2 separate regions of the Homo sapiens genome follow, and region 1 is linked to region 2. Evidence: promoter capture Hi-C in 16 types of primary human blood cells and fetal thymus (Javierre and others, 2016). All regions are on one chromosome and are shown on one strand. Each heading gives the region's core, a stretch centred on a gene start or on the middle of the fragment in contact. The rest is flanking DNA. Distances are from core to core; before and after follow the strand shown.

Region 1 (3,975 bases), core at 703-3,202, 750 kb after region 2:
GCAGCCTCGAACATTTAGGCTCAACTGATCCCCCTGCCTCAGCCTCCTGCGTAGCTGTGACTATAGGCACGCGCAACCATGCCTGGCTAATTTTTAAATTTTTTGTAGAGACAAGATCTCACTGTGTTGCCCAGGCTGGTCTTGAACTCCTTGCCTCAAACGATCTTCCCACTTCAGCCTCCCAAAGTGCTAGGATTACAGGCCTGAGCCACTGCACCTGACTGGGTTGTTTTTATTTGTTTGTTTGTTTTTTTAATCAAGGGAAATTTTTTAAAAGCTTCTCCACAATGGCAAATCTTCCTTTGCAAAGAGCAAATAGTTTTGCTCTTGGGGATAGATTTGATTTTTGGTACCAGCCAAAATCCATTTAGAGTTAAGTCTTGTTCATTATATGGGTGATCAAACCAAATGATACAATTTTGGTGCAAAGGCAAGCACGACTCAATTAGTGAGACTGACGTCCGAGTTACAAACTGATCTGTAGAGAAAGGTCAGGAAGGACCCACAGCAAACTGACAGCTGTGCCTGGGAAGGAAGTAAGGACAAAGGAACACTGATCTGTGCAGTAAAACTTTTATGGTAAGAATGTATTCATGTATTACCTTTGCAATTACAAAACATCCTCTGATCATGTAAACTGATGCTAAAGGCAGTAATGTTCTGGGCATCTATAGACTCCCAGAGTAATTCATTTGAACATGGTTTCTATGGTGGCTAAAATAATAATTTTAAATAAAATGTATGAACATTTTTATCAACAAATTTATAGTAATCTTTTAAATATATAAGGTATTAGCATTAATAATCTAATAGTAAAATCTGTTGGTTTATTTTTTGCTTAGTCCTTGAAAGTTGGTGTGGTTTGTTCTGAAAAAAAAAAAGAGAAGAAGATTAAAAATTATCTTAATGATCATAACTCTGGGTGGCCCCTGTTGGGGAGGCTCACCAGGCTGGGGTCTGGCTCTTGGCAAAGCCCCAGCAGCTCTGTGACCTTGGGTGAAGGTCACAGAAAATCCCCTCTGAGCTCTGACTTCTTCTCACATGTGAGACGAGGCAACTGGTGCTGAAATCAGGATGATGCCTGCCTGGATCTTGTGTGGTTCCACATTTTCCTGCTGCCTGGAACTTTCTCATTCCCAGGCTGATTCCTCTTGAAGTCCGATTGCTCACTAACCCCAGCACCAAGCTGGGAGAGGCACCTCATATTGCTTTTCCCCGCTAGCCCATTGCATTGTCCCAGAAATAGAAAGGATTCCCTTCCTTTTCTTCCAGCAGACCTTCCTAGATGATTTGTCTTTTCTCTTAAGGGACGTGCCCTAGATTGAGCAGAGTTGGGGGATCTTGAATCTGAGAAGTCTGATGATGGATTCCCCAGGAGGAAGAAAGGGGGAGGTGCAGTCTCTGACAGCCAGGGGTACTGGCCTCACATCCAGGCTGTGACTGCCATCTAGAGTGGAAAGGACGGTAGTGATAAAATATCAGGATGGTGGAGAGGCTGCATGAAAAAAGGGAGAAAACAGGGAAAATTGATTTTATCAGAAGGCAAAGGTGTTGCTGAATATCCAAAGATCAATTTCACCTCTTCTTTGAAATTCTCACTGTGGAACAGGGGAAAAATAGATTTCCAACTATTTGAGGCCATAAAATACATTCATTCACTGGGAGGTTAGCCCTTGGGTAGAATCAGAATACCCAGCAGTAGTCTTGCTTTACCGCAGACTGACCGAGGTGCCTAGAGAGGAATATGCCCTCTGTCCTCAGTTTCCCCCCATCTAAAATGAGGGATAACTGGCTTCATTCGGAGGCCTTCAATCTGTATCTTGCCATGAAGAACAGTAAGAAATACATTTTATATCACAACACAAAAGCCTCCTATAATGCAATTAAGGCAGAGGTTTTACAAAACAATACTTACAGTGTGCTCAGATCATTTCTGTTCTGTTTCAGTTTTTGGAATGCTGGCTGTGACCCACTTAAATGGATTTTCCAGCTCTCTAAGAGGCTGCAAAGCACATGGTGGAAAACACTGTGTTCAGTGCTCTCCCTGGTTGTTTCCAGTCCCCACATCTGATCATTCCTGGGGTCCTCTGTGTGTGTGTGGAAAGGAGAGTGTAGCTGAGAGCATAAGCCCAGCAGGGTTCGGGCGTGGTGTGGCCTTGCACACGTGGACGCATGGCAGCAGGCGACAGCCCATGGTGCAGCACAAGGGAACCCTCAGTAAGTCATGGCTGCAGACGACTGTCCTTTAATAATATGAGATGTACTGGTTGGAAGAAAAATGATCCAATAAATACAGAAATGAAAAGGATTATAAAATAGTGCTACGAACAATTGTATGCAAACCAATTGGATAACCTAGATGAAATGAAAAGATATTAGAAACAGCCTACCAAGACTGAATCATGAAGAAATAGAAAATCTTAATAGATCTATAGCTAGTAAGGAGATTGAACCAATGGTCTAAAATCTCCAACCTGGACCACATGGCTTCAGTGGTGAATTCTACCAAACATTTAAAGAATTGACATCAATCCTTCTTAAACTTCTAGAAATTTCAAGAGGTGGGAACACTTCCTAACTCATTATGAGATGAGGCCAGCATTCCTGATACCAAAGCCAGACAAAGACACAGCAGAAAAAGATAACCATAGACTAATATTTCTTATAAATATTGATGCAAAAGTCCTCAACAAAATACTAGCAAACTAAATTCAGCAGTATATTAAAAGGGTTATACTGGCTGCGCACAGTGACTCACACCTGTAATCCCAGCACTTTGGGAGGCTAAGGGAGGCAGATTACTTGAGGTCAGGAGTTCGAGACCAGCCTGGCCAACATGGTGAAACCTGTCACTACTAAAAATACGAAAATTAACCAGGCATGGGGGCACGCACCTGCAATCCCAACTACTCGGGAGGCTGAGGCAGGAGAATCACTTGACCCCGGGAGGCGGAGGTTGCAGTGACCTGAGATCGTGCCACTGTACTCCAGCCTGGAAGACAGAGCGAGACTCTGTCTCAAAAATAATAATAATACTAAATAAAAATTAAATTTAAAAAAGTAAAAGGATTATACATCATCAACAAGTGGGGGATTTATTCCCAGAAGGCAAGGATGGTTCCATACATGAAATTCAGTCAGTGTCATACACTACATTAACAGAATGAAGTTGGGGGTCCCAAACTTCATTCAGCAGGTCCCAAGTTCTTGTCCCACAATCATCTCAGTTGATGCAGAAATAGTATTGTCACAGGATCCTTAGGGTGTCACTTCGCCAGTCAGAAACCTTTGTGGCTGGTGGTGCCTTCTGCCTGAGTATTGCTCATGCCCACTGGGCTCATCCTGCCCACTTCCCCTGGCAGGCTGCGCTCAGCTCACGTTACTGGCCCAGATCCCACACCTGCCAAGGGCAAGCCAGGCACAGAATGGTGAGGGGTGTGTGAGCAAGTGAGTGCAAGGTCCAGCCACTGTGCACAGCCAGGTGCGCTGGTTGCTGCAGCAGGGCAGGCAGCTCCAGGTACTGGCACAGGTGCTTGCTCTGTGCAAGGCTGCAGCTGGACCAGATACACTGCATGCAGCATCCACTGCAGGCACTTGCGTCTGGATGAGGGGAATGTGATGGTACCCGGAAGCTTGGAGACACCAGGAACTGCAGAGTCCCAAAGATGGTGTCACAGCCCTGGCCAGGAGAACCCTAGGTCTGGGCTGCCCTAAGGGTCACAGCTCTTCTTTCCTTCTTGTCCCCCACAGTGTGGTGAGTGGAGGGGCATGTTTCAGCCCTGTTTATGTTACAGCTCTTTTAGTCCCACCATTCGGCCAGTCACAAGTTCTTGTCCCACATCCAAGAAGAATGAGGTACATGGACAACTGGTGGGTGAGAAGTTGGAGAGAAGCTTCATTGAGCAACAGAACAGCTCTCAGGAGACCCAGACTGGATAGCTCCTTTCTGTAGGCAGGTCATCCTGATGTCTGTCT
Region 2 (4,086 bases), core at 883-3,382:
AATGGCTGAATGGATGTTCTAAGGCCACAGGAGAACACATAGCTCAAACTTCCTGACTTGCTTTCCATTACTAACTTTCTTGGTTTGTGACCTACTTTTACTGTAACACCAGTGTGCATGCCATGGTTTCTACTGACCAAACTAATGGTCTTGTTTTCAACTAGGAAAAAATAATATGAGCATTGACCAACCAAGGAAACTACAGGATTCCTCGGTAAGAATCTATAGAAGGATTTCCTTATCTTTTTGAAAATGCATGTGAAATCTCCAGTGGATGCGAGTTAAGTTCATTTTTCTGGAAAGAGGAATCACAATTCTCATTGAATTTTCAAGGATATTAATGATACCAAAGAAAATTAAATTTCTTAAACCAAAATGTTAAGCTGAATTAAGTTATATTCACTTTTCTCTTTTCAAATCTATTTCGATATATAACCTATCCCTTAGAGAGACAGCAGCCTCTGCTAAAACAAATGTAACTGGAGAAGATGCAGCTGGCAGGCTCTCTCACATGAAGATTCCTACCAGAATTTGCGTTTCAGATTGTCTATAATTGGAAGAGTCCTTACCAGCATTCTTTAAAACTTAGATCCCTATTCTAACATACTCTGTATCATGGGAATCAGAATATTTATACTTCCCACTAATGTGTTCAAGAAGAAAACGTTACTTTCTGAACACATTTTTCACTGCCATCTAATTAAATGGAAAGGGGAAAAACCCAGGATCATCCATTTACAGGAAAGCCCGTCTTTTACTTTACACAGAGAGAACCAAACATCAGAAGCAGCATTAACTTAACCGTCACCAAATTCAATCTTGGGAATAATACGACAAGGATTAAACGAAGGGGAAAGCAGTTACATCATTTTAAAAGAGATAAAGTTTTGTTTGAATTAAAAGGTAGTCTAGTTGACATAAAAAAAGCGAATCACAGGTGTTTATACTACATATTGCATCTATGTGAGCTGAACAGGCACGATTAGGGCGATAGGCATCGGAACACCGTGCCCCCGGGGAGGGGATGAGGGCACTTTCTCAGGGCAAGGAAAGGCTATTTTGATTTGAGGGGGCTTGCAAGAGGGGATTCATTTGTGACACCCGTCTGGGAGCACACATGAAAGCTGCGTTTCACTGTAGGGAAAGTATACCTCAGTAAGGAAAACTATAAAGAGAATGACACGCTATCACTGGACGAACACAAGCAAAGCCTCTTTCGTTCCGGGAAGGTTCTATGGGGGCCGAACCCACGCTGGGCGCTGCTGGGCCACGGGGGAAAATGAAGACGGAGGGTCCCGAGAGCGCTGCCCTCGCCAGAGGCCACGAGCCACCCCCAACCACCGCGGCTCCGCCAGGAGAGCGAGCTTCGCCTCGCAGAGGGCTGCGGCGGCCGGCCCGGCGCCCAGAGCGGCCTGCTCCCACAGGTCCTGCGCGGGCGCCAGCTGGACCCGGACGCCGCGGCCCGGCTCGCCCGCCCCCGCCCTCACCGCTCCCGGGGACGCCAGCTGCCCACCCGGCCACAAAACACCCGGCCAGAGAAAGAGCTGTCCGCGAGCAAGAACCAAGCACAGCGGCGTGGGAGCTACGGCGAAGCTGCGGCCCGGGGGCGCGCGCCCGAGCGCCCCCACGGCTTTCCCAAGGACCCCCAGACCCGGGCCGCGCAACGCTGGTGGCGCATCCACGCGCTCCCCAAGAAGCCGCTGTGGCACCGCCCTCCAGAACTAACTGCGCTTGCGCTAACCATGAGCTGCTCAGCTCAAGTATGCTTTTTTTTTTTTTTTTTTTAAACCAAAAGGAGCAAGAGAGCGGTCAGCGCAGGCGCGCCCCTGACGCGGACCGCGCCGCCACTTCCGCCCCGAGCGAGAGGCTAGAGGCGAGAGGCGGGGGAGGCGGGAGGGACCCTGCGGACAGGGCACGAGTCCGGGTCTCGGAGGAGGTCGGCGACTGCCGCGTGGGTCCGCGACTCACCAAGTACAGCGGCTGCCAGCGACGCTGAGTATCCAACTCTTCGAACTCCCGCTCGATGGTGGTGGGCATGGCTGCGGGAGCGAGCTGGCGCGAGCAGAGCCTGCGCCGGCGGAGAGGCTCAGGCCCCGCACGATCCGGGGAGAGCGCTGGCGCTGCGGCGCATGCGCGCTGCGCGCCGCGCCCCGCCCCCACGCCAAGCCCTGTCGGCCGTGGGGAAAGTACCTGGAGCGTCGGACGTCAGCGCGCAGACTCGGCGCCCGAGCGCGGCGCGAAGTCGGCGGCGGGGCGGGGCGGGGCGCTCGGGGGGCGGGGCTCGGGGTGCCCAGGTGGGAGGGGGCGGGGCCAGGGGACCACCCGGCGGCCGTGGTCCCTGCGCGCGGCACGAGGTGAGCCGCCCCTTGGGCTTGCGTCTTCCGACAAGAGAGAGGCGGTGGTCCGTGGGTAGCGCGGGGTTACTGGAATGGGACTCCCTGAGGAAGTCCCCTGAGAAGTCGCCGGCACGCTCCGCCTTCCTTCTTGCTTCCCATTTCTCGTTTTCTTCTCAGCCTTCATAGTTTTTTAAAGTGCTGTATTTGAATATTATTTTAAACATCATCTAGGTCAGATTAGCGGCCTGTGACCAACTTGGAAACAAATTCCTCATTCTTTTCTGCCCTGGTGTCAGCTCCTGTAAGCCTGCAGATTTTATGCCAAATAAACCGCTGGAGCAAAAGGAAAGGCAGCCAGCCTCTCCCGGAATTTGGGAGAGGGATACCTTGTTAAGAAAACGTTCTACAACTTACGAATTAGATTTAACTGTAAAAAATAGCACGTCCTCTTTTACCAAACAAACGTACTAGTTAGGGAAATCATCTTGCTTCAGATTTAAGATAGTTCTTTTTTAGTGCTTGTAATATCCTGCTATATAATCTTCATAAGAAACGTGAAGGGTTAGGAAAGGTTTAGCCGTGCTGTCCAGTATTGGGATTTAAATTTTAAATATTAACTTAATTCCTCAGTGGCACCAGCCACATTTCAGGTGTGCCATAACCATGTATGGCTAGTGGCTGCTATGTGGCAAAGTACATATGTAGAACGTTTCTATCATCGAAGACAGTTCTTTTGGACAGAGCCGGCCGAGAGGATTACAATACTTGGGGCAGAAAAGTGTCCTTAATCACATAAAATAATGAAAACCCTAGCCAGAAAAAAAAAAAAAAAAGTTGGCTACGGAAGCTAGAAGAAATCGTATTAACAAAAAAGCAGTCAGCAAGCTTTCTACTTACATAGTATGATTTAGAGATACAGGAAAGCTTCCCCCGAAAGACCCCACAATGTCTAATGGTCCTTGGTTCTGAAATTCTGTCATTGAATCTGATTATTTTGATTAAAGGCATGGTATCTCCCAGAATATCCTGTGAATGTTCGCATTAGTCTGCTCATCAGATTGCTTTCCAACCAAAAAATACTGTGTTCTACAAAGGAGGAGCATCTTTATCTCAAAGCAGCAGTTCTTATCGCCAAGTATTCAGCATCTCTTTGGAATTCATTTGTCAGCCTCTCTGGTTCCGGGAGCTGTATTTGCCTATCTTAGTTTGCTGAGTGCAGCGAAGAATCTAGAACAGTGGTTCTCACACCAGCATCATTTGCATCCAGTGTGAGCTTCTTTGAAATGCAAATTTGAAGGCCTCACCCCAAACTACTGAATCAGAATCTCTGGTGTTGGGGCCCCAGGAGACTACTTAAGCAAGCTCTCCTGGGGATGCCTGTGCCCCCCCAGAGTTTGAGAATGATTGCTCCAGAAGAATACCTATACAGGGCTGCACTGAAGCCCGGGGGTAAAAAGAAAACAGAGGTTAACTTGCTTCGAGATATCCTGCTGACAAGATATGACTTGGTCTCTCCGACATATGTGACTCCCAACCCAACTAGTTCCTAGCTTGCTGTTTCTAAAGGACCCCAAATGTAGACTTTTGCCCCTTTTGAAGTCAAGATCAGAAGTTCTCAGGATTTTAAAATGTCAGGCTTCCCTATTGCCCCCAAATTGTTCAAAGTCCTTTGATAGTAGGCATACTTTTATGTGCATACTGTTTATATATTTGAGGAAATATATAATGAACAAAGTCTATTAATTTAAAA

The links. The method cuts DNA at HindIII sites, captures the fragments that hold promoters and counts their contacts. A CHiCAGO score of 5 or more calls a contact.
Region 1: a contact is called between a fragment that was not itself captured here and the fragment with the promoter of PTPN2 in region 2, in 1 of 17 cell types (fetal thymus). The highest score is 5.8, in fetal thymus.

Annotation. Positions count from the first base shown.
Region 1 is chr18:13,628,908-13,632,882 of GRCh38, forward strand. The region is part of intron 5 of LDLRAD4 (low density lipoprotein receptor class A domain containing 4); the gene reads left to right. Among named protein-coding and RNA genes, the nearest start is that of MIR4526, 20 kb to the left of the region's middle. The HindIII fragment of the contact is 3,355 bases long and covers 276-3,630 here.
Region 2 is chr18:12,882,105-12,886,190 of GRCh38, forward strand. PTPN2 (protein tyrosine phosphatase non-receptor type 2) reads right to left here and starts at 2,133. Exons shown (of 9, transcript NM_002828.4): 1 at 1,969-2,133. The coding sequence starts at 2,037. RefSeq lists silencers at 1,336-1,675, 2,056-2,345, 3,705-3,754. The HindIII fragment of the contact is 3,601 bases long and covers 1-3,219 here.